Regions from separate parts of the Homo sapiens genome. Here all the other regions are linked to region 1. Evidence: promoter capture Hi-C in 16 types of primary human blood cells and fetal thymus (Javierre and others, 2016). All regions are on one chromosome and are shown on one strand. The core of a region is centred on a gene start or on the middle of the fragment in contact, and the rest is flanking DNA. Distances in the headings are between cores, read along the strand shown. Region 1 holds the start of CNPPD1 (cyclin Pas1/PHO80 domain containing 1). Region 2 overlaps NHEJ1 (non-homologous end joining factor 1). Region 3 overlaps TUBA4B (tubulin alpha 4b). Region 4 overlaps STK16 (serine/threonine kinase 16).

Region 1 (3,392 bases), core at 254-2,753:
AGGAGGCGGAGGTTGCGGTGAGCCGAGATTGTGCCACTGCACTCCAGCCTGGGTGACAAAGTGAGACTGTCTCAAAAAAAAAAAAAAGAAAGAAAGAAAAGAAAGAAAAGACGATTCCCCTTTCTCTAGGGCCCAAACACTCTCATCCTATCCTCATTTCCAGGCTCACCGGGACACATGAGCTACATATTTCTTCTGGAGTCGGCGAATAGGGCTGGGGGCTGCCTTCTGGAGCAGTTCGACAGCAATGTCTGCAAGGGACAGAAGGAAGGCCGAGTGAGCAAACAAGCACCCACACCCAACACACCAGTCCCCACTGCTAGCAGAAGACCCAGATCTGTATTTTCTGAGGCCTTGGGGACAGGACCATAGTAACAAAATAGAGATCAAATTCTCACACACTGAGACAAAAAGCCCATTCCAAGTTCGAATTTCAGCTCATTCTAACAGGAAAGCTTATTGCCCTGTCACATCAAACTATCCAGATTTATCTGTCACTGCTGTTCATCTGTGGCATAAACATGCCTTGTTTACTTGGGGAACATATGATGGATATCCTTCGAAAATTAGCTTTTCAATATATAAATCAAGAGTGATTTGTATAGATATATGTGGCAGCAATGTTTTTTATTCATTTGGGCTAAAAGAATGGGAAATGCAAACTGCCCTCTTGAACCAAGTACCAACGAGCTAGCAATGAAGAGACAGTGTAGCCACGGGGCAAACCTCGAGCCATTTTCTGCCTGATGACAATCCCATTTTCATGCTTCTCACTTGTCCAGTCACACAACACTGCCTAACCTGCCACCGGGCTGGAGAGCTCCTCCAGGCTACAGTCGGCTTCCCAGTCCCAGCCATAGTAGAGCCTCCTTCGGATCCGGGCACTCAGCTTCTGGTGTCCTGGGAGGAACTGAAACAGGGCAGGGGCAGCGGAGGGTGAAGGGCACGGAAAGGTATGATGCAGATCCTGGCTCTGGGCTGGAAGGCGGGGCAGGGGACAGGCCGGCCTCGCTGCTAGGGGGCCCGTGCCTTACCCAGACCCGCGTTCTGTAAATCGCTTGCCAATGGCAGCCTGGTCCATAGAGGGAGGAATGCCCCCACCCCCATCGAGGGTTCCCCGGGAGAAGTTCTCCGAGAAGGGCCCTCGTGTGGCCACCCCTACGCCCATTCCTATACTCCGCGGCTCTCCCTCCCGGCCCAAGCAGCCGCGGCCTCAAGGAAGCACTGCTCGAGCAGCTGCCGCCCAGTCCCGGCACAGCAGTCAGGCGAGCTCGCAGCGCCGCTCAGGCCGGGAGGGGCGCGCCGGGAGGCCGGGGAGGGGGCGGGACCCCCACTCACCGTGAAGTCCTGGAAGCCGGCGAGGGAGAAGGTGCCTTCTTCGTCCAGCAGGAGCCCGGTCAGGTCCATCGCGCCGCCAGTCGCCGCCCTGCGAAGGTGAACGGAAGGAAACGAGTTGTAGGGGGCTCGCGGAGCTGTCCTTGCCCGCCTGTCCACCTGCCAGCCTGCCTCCCCGGGGCGGGCCGCCGTCCTCGCCCTCGCCCTCGCAGCTCCCTCCCCCCGGCGGCGGAAGGCGGGGCCCGGGCTGAACTGGGCGCCTCTTCCTGTTCCGCCCCGGGCTTGGCGCGGCGCGCGGGGGCCCTAGGCCCGGGAAGGGAGGTGTCAAGCGTCCGTGCGACGCTCACCTCGCGGAGCAGAAAGGAGATGCGGCTGCGAGGCGCGTACTCCGCCTGTGCCGCGTCCGCCCGGCGTTTACAAGCCGCGGGGGTGCCGCCTGCAAGTCAGCGCCTGGCACTTCCTGCCGCCCATCTGGCCCAGCCTCCCGCCCCGACCCGCGGGCAGGAACCGGACTCGAACTCCTGGTCTCACGGAACGTGGCCAAGCCCCAGGCGCCTCTGAGAAATGGGGACAATTCGTAGGGGGGACCACGCCGCACTGAGGATGAACAAGCCAGGCGTAGCAATGGAGAAGTTAATGTGAATAAGACGAAACGCACAACAGGAAGTTGTTCCCAGTTGCTTTTTAGGAGAGATATTATACATACTCAGCAATGCATATGAAAAGCGTCTGAAAGGACACACAGGAAATTTAGCAGTGGGTGAACTATGAAAAGGAAGAGAAACTCAGGGTGTTTTTTTTTTTTACTGTAATTTGAACTTTTAAACCTAAGGCTACTGAGGAAATTCTGTGATCTTAAGCGAATGTAAGGCCTCAAAACGTGTCAACACGTCCACCCAAAAGTAAACTGCATCTACCCAAGGTTTTGTGTTGAAACCCACCTCCCGCCTCCGATCTCATGCTTGAGTAGGCCGAGGTGGGAAGAAGCTCCGATATGTGGAAGTGGGAAAGTTTAAGGAGATAGGAAAGAAACAACTTTTCTGAGTAGATGTTGTTTTCGAGTCTGTCGAGTCAAGCGCTGGTGTGTGTTTGTTTACCCACTGAGGGGAGGGAACTGGGAGGACCAGTGCGTTGAGGGTTGGTTGAGTAATGGGACGGCCACCGCCCTTCCCGAGCGAGCAGAAGCAGACCCTACCGGGGATACTGGGAATCTGGAAGCCCACTTCCTGCCCCACACGGGGATACCGGGGCAGCACCACACTCCCTAGCCGCCCTGCCTACTGTGGGATAAGAAAACGGGCTCGACTGCCTGGACCTAGACCCGGACTCGGAACCCGGGGTACTTCGTCAACCAGAAAACGAACCTGTGTAGGCGCAGTGTCAGCGGCAGCCGCCGGGGCGCATGCGCGGCCCGCCCTATCCGGGGGGGGGGGGGTTAGGCCGCGTCACGTGACGGGCTCAGCGCTCCGCAGTCACGTGACGCTCGTCCGCAACCTCTGCTGTCCTCCGCGGCGCCCCCTTCCGCCTGACGCGCCCCCGGCGGCGGCCGCGCAGCCCTGGCTCCTCGCGGGCTCGGGCGGCGGCTGCGGCGGGGCTATGGCGAGCGGCGGTGGCGGGGGTAACACTGGCGCGGGTGGGGGGCCGGGGATGGGCCTGAGCCTGGGCCTGGGTCTGGGTCTGAGCCTAGGCATGAGTGAGGCCACCAGTGAGGCAGAGGAGGAGGCGGCCACGGCCGAGGCGGTGGGACGCCTGGCCACGACGCTGTGGCTGCGGCTCCGCGGCTGGGAGGCGGTGCTGGCGGCGGCGCAGCGGTTGCTGGTGTGGGAGAAGCCGCTGCACAGCCTGGTCACGGCGGCCGCGCTCAACGGCCTCTTCTGGTAACGGCCGCGGAGGAGGGGGCGGGGCCGGGATGAGCGGGGGAGGGAGGGGTCGAGAGCACCATTCCCCTTTCTGGGTTATCACTTGGCCTGGGGGCATGACCCATCCCCAGTTTTTGCAGGCTGACATCCGCTTGAATTGCCCATTTTTTTCTATCTCTGAGTCGTGAGTCGCGAGTT
Region 2 (3,392 bases), core at 465-2,964, 100 kb before region 1:
CAAGCTACCTCATACCCTCCATGCACTGGATGTTCCGCTCATGGTGAGATCTTCTGAGGCCTTGGCCAAGAACACAAGGAAAAAACATAGAGCAATGAGCTGCCCTGGACAAGAGCACCCTGTAGCAGCTTCCAGGGCATCAATGCAGCTGGGAACCCCCCTCCTATAAAGTATGGGCTTCCTTCTCTTCCTGCATTCCCCTCTGTATCTAAGGGCCTAGTGTAATCCATTACAATTTTGCTAGCCCATACATTTATGGATATTAGTAACAGAGACGAGGAACCAAGGTTCTTGAGCTCTGAGTTTGGTGGCTTCCTTGCAGTATGTCACTTATTCCTTTCTAACAGTTTTTTCTTCAAGAAAAATTAGAAGACAGAAACTACTTCACAGTAGAGCTTAGAAAAACATATCCTGATTGTATCAAAACCTAGTTGACATAAAATTATATTTGTTAATGGTATAATATCCCTGAAGTGATATTTTCTGAGTTAGGGTTAAAACTGACCCTGTTCTCAAAGAGTATAACCTAATGAAAGGATGAAAACAGAAAAGTGCACAGGAAGTGTGTCTATTAACACAGTCTACATTAACAGCATAAGCAGAACAGACAAAGTGAGCTTACCATATCATGAGGAAGGGCTATTAAGAGAATTTAGGCTTACTCTATACTCTCTGGAGCGAATCTGTGTAGTTTTGTAAGTAGGAGAAAATGAGAGACAGAATAAACAGAGAGAGGAAAATGCTCCTAGTGACAATGTAAGGAACGAAACCAGGAGGAGCAGCACAGCCTTTTCCATTCCCCACTCCTCCCGCCAGCTTTGTACAGAGTACACAAGGGGCCCCTGCTTATCTCCCAACAAACGTGGGCTAAGGAGGAGGTAAGGGCTTGGGAAAATGGGAGGTCTAAGTGAAAAGGAAGGAAAGAAAAGGGAGTCCAAATGTACCGCTGGATAAAAACGAGCAGCAGTAGGGCTGAGTATCAAGAGATGTGAGCATCTCTCCTTCCCCCAGTGCTCACTGTGGGTGCGCTACACCAGGCCTGTGGAAGGATTTTGGTCTCAACAGGCTAGACTCTTTCCAGTTCAGAGCATAGAAGCACAGATCTCACTCTTCGCCACCTTACACCATAGGAATTCGCTTCTCAGGAATCAGGGAAAGATGGAGACTAGAAGCTTTCTTCCTGCCTTCTCAATAACTTTACTATCCCTTGGAAATCCTCCTTGATCTGGGAGACTGGCTGCCTGGTGACAAGAGAAGAGAATGACCCTAGTGATATCTTTTAGGACCCAGCCTGAGCTCTGCTTTTAAGGGTTGCTGGGGAAGCCCCCACTGAGGCATGAGAAAAGGAGGTGCTACCCAGCTAGAGTGGAAAGGGATGAGGCTTTCTCTCCAAGCAGGGAGCATGCCTGTCCTAGCTAACTATGGGGGACCAGCCGGCAAGGCCAAGTAGGCCTTGCAATCTAGGTGGCGCTATTTCTCTACTTTTTAGGTCAAGTTCCTGCAGGAACTTCCTCGAGGTCCCAAGTCCTGCTCCTGGTTTGCTGGCTTGCTCGTGTAAACCACCTTATATTATTTTTTTTTCTAAAAATACTCCAAAGCAATTGAAAGAGTCCCTTCTCCCACCAGCCAGCCCTGGCCCCAGCCCCAGCCCCGGGGAGCGGGCGGGTAGGCGGGGAGGTGGGCCACTGCTTTATTAAACACAGGGAAAACTAATATTTACGGAATAAAATTTATGGAGCAGCCACGAGAATTCGACCCTTTTATGTGCATGTAGAGTGGGGGTTGGGCCAGGCTGGGGGCCTCAGGGAGGGGCCCAAGCCAGGGGGCAGGGCTGGAATACAGCCTGGCTAGGCCAATTTGTCAAAGCAGGGATTTCCCTGGAGTTGCCTTAGGATGAATGATTCTCAACCACTACCCCTAGCTTTGCGGGGTAAGGGCTTCGGGGCAAGAATGCCTGTGGCAGGGCCTCTGGTAGCAATGTTTCTCTAACAACGTATTTAAGCAATACCCCAATGGAGACAGCAACCTTTGGGGATGATGGGGGCAGTGGATGGAAGGTTACTAGCTATATTCTTACTTAACCTTTTTAGAAAGTCACACATTCTTTTTGAGAACATCAACAAAATTTTGCTCTTAAGATTTTACCTACAATTTTGAGGGATTCACAGGCCTCTGGCCCCGCTGTGATGAAAAATGTCTTGAGTCTGTGCTGTTACAGTACAGGGAATGCCCAGGGTGAAGAACCGGTATTTTCTCCAAGCTTGCAGGGGAAGCCTTTCCATTTTCCATGTGCCTTGTAGATACTGAAATCTGACTATCTAAATTATGCTGAAAAGAAACGAAAGATCGGCCAGGCACAGTGGCTCAAACGTGTAATCCCAGCACTTTGGGAGGCCGAGGCAGGTAGATCACCTGAGGTCAGGAGTTCGAGACCAGCCTAGCCAACATGGTGAAACCCTGTCTCTACAAAAAATACAAAAATTAGCCGGGCTTGGTGGCAGGCATCTAATCCCAGCTACTCGGGAGGCTGAGGCAGGAGAATCACTTGAACACAGGAGGTGGAGTTTGCAGTGAGCCAAAATTGTGCGATTGTACTCCAGCCTAGGCAACAAGAGCAAGACTCCATTAAAAAAAAAAAAAAGTAACAAAAGAGCAAAGTAAGCCAGCTGATAGGCTGTTTTTATATAGTTCCCAATTCACTTCGATGACAGTCACTACCACACAGCACACTCTAGGGTCCTGTGGTCTGGGGGTAAAGAAAAGTTATCAGCAGTGACTGGGAATGAGCCTTGGTGGAGATCTCAGACTCTGCTAGCAGGAAAAAGCATGAGGGTAAGTCCTGGAGTCCTCAAGAGCTCCTTCCTTGAAGAGCCCCTGGGGAGCAGACATCCTATTGAAAAGAGGCAAGGTCATGGGATAAGGAGGTTTACAGTGGGAGACTGGAAAGAAGAACCTAATGTCCTTTCTGGAAAATAAATGTTTTCATTAGTGTATATAATAATGCTGTTAAGAACTCAGCTGTCTGGGCTTAAATTCTGGCTGTCACTTATTAGCTGTATGACCTTTGATAAGTCACTTACTCACTTCAGGATCCAATTTCTTAATGGGTTAACAGCATCTTCCTCATATGATGCTATGAGGATCAATGTCAAGTGCTCATTAGAGTAGCTGGTATACATTAACTGCTCAATAAATGTTAGCTATTTATTATTGTTGTTCTTATTATAATTATTTTATTATTGTTTGATCATCTTCTCTCGAGACTTGACATCAGGACAGAAACGCCAGTATATATACAGGATATTTGAATAAGGAGGCATTTAACCATCGAAAGTAAATAAACCAGAAATTGGATAGGCGTGGTAGCTCATGCCTGTAATCCCAGCACTTTG
Region 3 (3,392 bases), core at 226-2,725, 91 kb after region 1:
GAGCATGCAAGTGAGGGTCCCAGTGGGCCCAAGATATCTGGCGTGAAGGTACCTTGGGAGTCCACATGGTGATGGGGCTACAGTATGTGGCGAGGTGGGGAGAGGGAAAGAGACTTCCAGATGTGGCTGTGGCCCCCAAATGTGCAGGTGTGGGGGGCATCACAGGGGGTAGGGAAGGAAAGTTTAATGGTAACCAGGTTGTGGGGCTGAGCCTAGGCTGAGAAGCAGGGCTGCTGAGGGGGTCTGAATTTAGGTGTGGGGAGTGTGGGGGAAGCAGGACTTGAGCAGAAAGTGTAGGCGATTTCCTCTGCTGGCTGAGGATCTCCAGACCCTGGGCCTTGCCACAGGTTCACTGTTGGGCTCTGATCCCACCTTCCCACCATGGGGACACATCCTCCATGGAAGCTTCTCCCCTCTGGTTCCTCCCTCCACCCTGCCCATCTGCTGTGCCTTTGTCTGACCTCTCATGTCAGTTACAGATCAGTGGGGAGAAGAAGGAGGAGGGAAAAGGGGGTGCTCCCATCTGTCAAGAGCTGGCTGTGCCTGGGGCTTATTTGATATCTTTTACCCACCTCCCTACCAGGCAGGATAGAAGAACAGTTAAGAGCATGGTTGGTGCCAGGCCATCCCTGCTCTAAATATTCTTGGTTTTGCTCATGGCCTTGAGCAAGCTACTTGACTTCTCTGAGGGTCGGTTTCCTCATCTATAAATTGGGGGTAATAAAACTACCTACCTAAGGTGAATGTGGTAAAGATTAAATGAGATAATGTGTATAAAGTGCCACCTTCACCTGGCACCTTATTAGTGCTTAATAAGCAGAACTAAGCAATGTAACAACACAGGCCGCCGGCTATGAGATTCTTCTCTTTCTACAGTCATGAAAAAGGTGCTAGGGAAGCTGAGGTGAAATGACTTGTATTGGATCACAGAGAGATGGGGGTTTGAGGCCAGGTCTGTGTGACTCCAGAGGCTGAGTTCTTTTTTTTGTTTTTTTTTTTTTGAGACGGAGTCTCATTCTGGAGTGCAGTGGCGCAATCTCGGCTCACTGCAACCTCTGCCTCCCGGGTTCAAGCGATTCTCCTGCCTCAGCCACCCAAGTAGCTGGGACTACAGGCGCTTGCCACCACATCTGGCTAATTTTTGTATTTTGAGTAGAGACAAGGTTTCACTATGTTGGCCAGGATGGTCTCAATCGCCTGACCTTGTGATCTGCCCACCTCGGCCTCCTAAAGTGTTGGGATTACAGGCGTGAGCCACTGCACCCGGCCAGGGGCTGAGTTCTTTGCCCCAAAACTGCTGCCTCCAGTGTGAGACATCATTCCCAGAGGGGCCAGAGACACCTTGCATGGGCTAGTAGTTCTGGGGGCCAGGACGATGTCTGGGTCTGTGGACAGAACTGGCTGGTCAGGCTCAGAGGTGCAGCACCAGGCAGGTGATTGGTGAGCCAAGGCAGCCCCAGGATTGGACCTGGGATTTCTCCTGTCCTTGAGGTCTCAGCTCAACTCATTATCTTTTTTTTTTTTTTTTTTTTTGAGATGGAGTCTCACTCTGTTGCCCTGGCTGGAGTGCAGTGATGCAATCTCGGCTCACTGCAACCTCCACCTTCTGGGTTCAAGCAATTCTCCTGCCTCAGCCTCCCGAGTAGCTGGGATTATAAGCATACACCATTTTTGTATTTTTAGTGGAGAGGGGGTTTCACCATGTTGGTCAGGATGGTCTCGAGCTCCTGACCTCAAGTGATCCACCTGCCTTGGCCTCCCAAAGTGCTGGGATTACAGGCTTGAGCCACTGCGCCCAGCCTCAATTCATTACCTTCTCTTACTATGACATCAGGGATTGAGGGTGGGAAATTGGAAGGGGAACCCAACATGCATGGCACACCCTAGTGTGTGTTAGGCAGTGGGCCAGGCACTTTGCATGCATTCTTTCATTTAATTCTCATAGTTTTTCTAGGAGGGGCTCTTATTATTGTCTACATTTCAAAAGGAGAACATTGACAAAGAGGTTAAGATTTTTGCTCAAGACAAGTAGAGAAGTAATTGGGCTGGAATACAGATTATTTATGGATTAATCTCAGTCATCTAAAAATCATGAAAAGTCAGGCCTTTGTGTTATATAAAAATAGTCAATGAAGTGTTACATTTTTGGAGAAGTCATCCTCATTAAACAATTAAGAAATATTTCAGGAATGCAAAAAGGTATAAATAATAACATGATAGGCTGGGCGGCGGTGGCTCATGCCTGTAATCCCAGTACTTTGGGAAGCCAAGGCAGGTAGACTGCTTGACCCCAGGAGTTTAAGACCCACTTGGGAAAGATGGCGAGACCTGTCTCTACAAAAAAATTTAAAACTTAGCCAGGCATGGTGGTGCATGCCTGTAGTCCCAGCTACTCGGGAGGCTGAGACAGGAGGATCCCTTGAGCCCAGGAGTCCAAGACTGCTGTAGTTAACTATGATCACATCACTGTACTCTAGCCTGGGTGACAAAGTGAGATTCTGTCTCAAGAAAAAAAGAAAAGAATAATGTGATGAACAGCAGCTATCAAGCTTGAGAAATAGAATCTGTCTCCAATTGCATCTATCTGCTTCCCCTGCCAGAGAGCACCATTATTCCAAATTTGGAGTTAATGTCTCCTGTGCTTTATCTTTGTACTATTTTCCCTTGCTTCCCTCACCAATGGCTCCTAATTTCTTTCTGGACACTGGTGGGTAGATTATCTTGCACTTCTAGATTCATTCGATTCCTTCAATGTTGCTCATTGAGACAGGCACTGAGCAAGAGTCTATAATCTCAGGACTGCCCGCATCTTCTGCTTCCCCCAATGATTTTGGCCCAGCCCCTACAGCCGATGCCTGTTGCTCCTCAGTGCCACCAGTAAATGCTTAGATGCAGGAGGCGAGGCAAGCAGAGTAGAGTCCAGGAACCTTGGCCCTCAGCCAAAGAGCCACTCAAGGAAGGCAGGCAGGAACCATGTCCAGGCATGATATGTTTCCCTCTGTGAAGGCCGTTCTCTGCCCTTTGCCCACTCAGTGTGAGTGCATCTCAGTCCACGTGGGGCAGGCCGGTGTGCAGTTGGCAATGCCTGCTGGGAGCTCTACTGCCTGGAACATAGGATTCAGTCTGATGGGCAGATGCCCAGTGACAAGACCATCAGGGGAGGGGGATGACTCCTTCAACACCTTTTTTAGTGAAACTGGGGCTGGGAAACATGTGCCCCAGGCGGTGTTTGTGGATCTGGAGCCCGCTGTGATGATCAGTCCCAGCCACAACCTTGTCCCTGGGTACCACAGCAAGTCCTACTCCATAACTGCAGAGCATGGTGTCTGTGGTATAGCTTCCCAGGTGCTGCAGCCAATTAGAACTCCACATGTACAGAATCACTGTTACTC
Region 4 (3,392 bases), core at 513-3,012, 74 kb after region 1:
AAAAACACTCAACTAGTTCTTTCCTTCCTTCACTCCTGGGGTGAGTAGCTTAGTCAAAGCTGCCTAGCCGGTTTGCTAGGCAAGGGCCTCTGGGTGGAGACACCTGAGGAAGCTTTGAGACAGGTAGATTACAGGTCTCCCATCCTCAGCCTAGGGGCGAGGGGAGTGGAGGTGGCAGCGGCAGCTGTTTTGGCCTGTGTCTCCCTGATCGTTCAAGCTCATACATGGTTAATGATTAATGAGGCAGTGTGGTGTGGCAGTATCCAGCTGCCACTTCCTGCCTACTCTGCTGAGTAAACAGGGGCCCTGTCTTAGCTGGGCTTCAAACCTGTTCCCTAGGGAAGGGCTCTGTTCCCTGAATCACCAGGGAGGAAAGGCAAGGGCAGGGTTGGCATCTCCTGCTCTTTTGTGATCCAAGCCTCCTCCCCCGAACCATGTCTACCCCACAGTATGACATCAGCATGGGGCCTGGGGCTCCTGTTAGCAAAGTTGAAGCTTTCCCCAGGGCCCTAGCAGGAGTCTCCCACTAGCTAGCACAGAGGCTGAGGCCAGAAAGAAATCACAAACAGAGGGGAGATGACCTGACTTTTAATGGCACAGCCCCAGCTCCAGCAAAGCAGCAAGACAGGAAGCTATGCAAAGCTGCTCAGAGGTGCAGTGGCACAAACAACTCTAGGAGATCGCCTGTGTTCCCTCCCATCCCCCAAGCTTATGACGTGGCTCCATGCCCAGGAACTCTGGGCCAGCCCAGCCCCACTCCCAAACCCTCATAATGCACAGAGGAGCCTGGGCCAAGCCTTGCTTCCAGAGTTGGTAAATGTAGAGGCAGCAGGAAGAACAGGGTAGCAGTCTAACTTTCAAAGACAGAAACCACTGGATTATACTCCTACTTGGAAAGGAGCTGAAGACTCATCCTTCAACAGTTTGTGCCTGGATTTTGGTCCTCATTTCCTCCCTATACTGAGTAACCCTAGGACTTCAATTTAAAGTCCCTGGGGTTATGCTTCCTGGGCCTGGCAAGAACCCCTTTGCAGGTCTCACCTTCAGCGATGGAAGGGATAAGGGTCATGAACAGCAAACAGAGCAGCAGCAGCATGAAGGGGAAGGCAGCAGAAGCTCAAGCACTCAGAGGGAACAAGAAACCGTGCAAGGAAACTGTTTATTTCGAAAGGATTTTGCAATAAACATAGTGAATAGGCTCCAGGCAGCTGCTTTATTCTTCTCCCTCATCCTCGTCCTCATAGGAGTCGATGCCCACCTCCTCATAATCCTTCTCCAGGGCAGCCATATCCTCACGGGCCTCGGAGAACTCACCCTCCTCCATGCCCTCACCCACATACCAGTGCACAAACGCCCTCTTGGCATACATCAGGTCGAACTTGTGGTCCAGGCGGGCCCAGGCCTCGGCGATGGCGGTCGTGTTGCTCAGCATGCACACGGCACGCTGCACCTTGGCCAGGTCACCCCCAGGCACCACAGTGGGAGGCTGGTAGTTGATACCAACCTTGAAGCCTGTGGGGCACCAGTCCACAAACTGAATGCTGCGCTTGGTCTTGATGGCGGCAATGGCAGCGTTGACATCCTTGGGCACCACATCTCCACGGTACAGCAGGCAGCAGGCCATGTACTTGCCGTGCCGGGGATCACACTTTACCATCTGGTTGGCAGGCTCAAAGCAGGCATTGGTGATCTCTGCCACCGACAGCTGCTCGTGGTATGCCTTTTCTGCAGAGATGACTGGTGCATAGGTGGCCAGGGGGAAGTGGATGCGAGGGTAGGGCACCAGGTTGGTCTGGAACTCTGTCAGGTCCACATTGAGGGCCCCGTCAAAGCGCAGAGAAGCTGTGATGGAGGAGACAATTTGGCTAATGAGGCGATTGAGGTTGGTGTAGGTTGGGCGCTCGATGTCTAGGTTGCGGCGGCAGATGTCATAGATTGCTTCGTTGTCCACCATGAAGGCACAGTCTGAGTGCTCCAGGGTGGTGTGGGTGGTCAGGATAGAGTTGTAGGGCTCGACCACGGCTGTAGACACCTGGGGGGCTGGGTAGATGGAGAATTCCAGCTTGGATTTCTTGCCATAGTCAACAGAGAGCCGCTCCATCAGGAGTGAGGTGAAGCCAGAGCCAGTGCCCCCACCAAAGCTGTGGAACACCAGGAAGCCCTGAAGTCCTGTGCACTGGTCAGACTGAAAGGCAAGAACGAGAAAGAACAGTTTAGGTAGGGGAGGGGCCTGAGGGACTCTATCACCTGGCTCCATAAAGCGTAAGATACATCAGCAGTCAGGGCAAATACTGAGGATGCCATAGCAGCACCACACTCGAGACCATGTATAGTTAGAGATGACCTCCTGAAAGGATCTGAAAAAAAATATTCCTGACCATTAGCACAGTCTCAAAAGTTCCCTCCCTCCCAAGACACACTCTCACCAGCTTGCGGATCCGATCCAGCACTGGGTCAATGATCTCCTTGCCAATGGTATAGTGACCACGGGCATAGTTGTTGGCAGCATCCTCTTTCCCAGTGATGAGCTGCTCTGGGTGGAAGAGCTGTCGGTATGGGCCATTTCGGATCTCATCTGGAAGGGCAAAAACCACAAAGCTATGCTCAGCAGGGACCTTCCTCCCCCAGGGTGGTAGCTGTGGCCAGATGCATGGAAGGACTCATCCTCCTGCCAGCCTGAGATACCAGAGTGTGAGAGAAACCCAGACCAGCTGCCCAGGCCAGTCTCAGATCAGCTTGCCTTCTGCAGCTTCAAGTACGGCTAGGAATTTTCAGGGCTAGGAATGCCTGGTCTAAATACCCTCTCTCTCCAGGGAGAAGCTTTGAGTCATGCTCCACCCCCTTCAATTTTGTCCCCACTTCCTCTCACCAATGACCGTAGGCTCCAGATCCACAAAAACTGCCCGGGGTACGTGTTTTCCAGCACCAGTTTCACAGAAGAAGGTGGTGAAGGAGTCGTCCCCTCCACCAATGGTCTTGTCACTGGGCATCTGCCCATCAGGCTGAATCCCATGTTCCAAGCAATAGAGCTCCCAGCAGGCATTGCCCATCTGGACACCTGCCTGCCCCACGTGGACTGAGATGCATTCACGCTGAGGGATAGAGAGAGGGGACACAGCATGAGCCCCACATCCACAAGTCCTCACCTTGCGAGTCTCTCTTCCACCCTATCATCTACCAGCTAGGATGACTCAGTTGGCAAGAGTGGAGGGTTGGGGCTGGGCAGAGGTGAGAAGAGAGTAGCAGCCTGCCCGGGCTCCCAGGTACAGGACTCCCCACCTGGAGGCACCCAGCAATGCAGGCCAACCTCTTAGCCCACTTCTCAGTGGGGAATCTGTCAAGTGAGCACTGTGGCTCCACATGACAAAAGGTTTCCTAGAGGTATGGGTTTA

Evidence for each region. The method cuts DNA at HindIII sites, captures the fragments that hold promoters and counts their contacts. A CHiCAGO score of 5 or more calls a contact.
Region 2: a fragment that was not itself captured here is called in contact with the fragment with the promoter of CNPPD1 in region 1 in 1 of 17 cell types (M2 macrophages); the score reaches 5.5 in M2 macrophages.
Region 3: a contact is called between a fragment that was not itself captured here and the fragment with the promoter of CNPPD1 in region 1, in 7 of 17 cell types (neutrophils, naive B cells, fetal thymus and 4 more). The highest score is 8.4, in neutrophils.
Region 4: a contact is called between a fragment that was not itself captured here and the fragment with the promoter of CNPPD1 in region 1, in 17 of 17 cell types (fetal thymus, naive CD4 T cells, naive B cells and 14 more). The highest score is 16.4, in fetal thymus.

Annotation. Positions count from the first base shown.
Region 1 is chr2:219,175,422-219,178,813 of GRCh38, forward strand. It overlaps CNPPD1 (cyclin Pas1/PHO80 domain containing 1), which reads right to left and starts at 1,504. Exons shown (of 8, transcript NM_015680.6): 1 at 1,339-1,504; 2 at 802-910; 3 at 170-251. The coding sequence starts at 1,407. It overlaps RETREG2 (reticulophagy regulator family member 2), which reads left to right and starts at 2,854. Exons shown (of 9, transcript NM_024293.6): 1 at 2,854-3,212. The coding sequence starts at 2,932. RefSeq lists silencers at 1,126-1,420, 1,259-1,318, 1,439-1,648, 1,719-1,768, 2,759-2,838 and 2 more and an enhancer at 2,549-3,049. The HindIII fragment of the contact is 4,554 bases long and covers 454-3,392 here.
Region 2 is chr2:219,072,114-219,075,505 of GRCh38, forward strand. It overlaps NHEJ1 (non-homologous end joining factor 1), which reads right to left. Exons shown (of 8, transcript NM_024782.3): 8 at 1-3,392. Among named protein-coding and RNA genes, the nearest start is that of IHH, 13 kb to the left of the region's middle. The HindIII fragment of the contact is 1,088 bases long and covers 1,171-2,258 here.
Region 3 is chr2:219,266,594-219,269,985 of GRCh38, forward strand. The region is part of intron 2 of TUBA4B (tubulin alpha 4b); the gene reads left to right. Among named protein-coding and RNA genes, the nearest start is that of DNAJB2, 11 kb to the right of the region's middle. The HindIII fragment of the contact is 2,144 bases long and covers 404-2,547 here.
Region 4 is chr2:219,249,139-219,252,530 of GRCh38, forward strand. STK16 (serine/threonine kinase 16) reads left to right here. Exons shown (of 8, transcript NM_001330213.2): 8 at 1-1,199. It overlaps TUBA4A (tubulin alpha 4a), which reads right to left. Exons shown (of 4, transcript NM_006000.3): 2 at 2,870-3,092; 3 at 2,427-2,575; 4 at 572-2,185. The coding sequence ends at 1,214. Among named protein-coding and RNA genes, the nearest start is that of TUBA4B, 2.4 kb to the right of the region's middle. RefSeq lists enhancers at 845-934, 975-1,094. The HindIII fragment of the contact is 2,112 bases long and covers 707-2,818 here.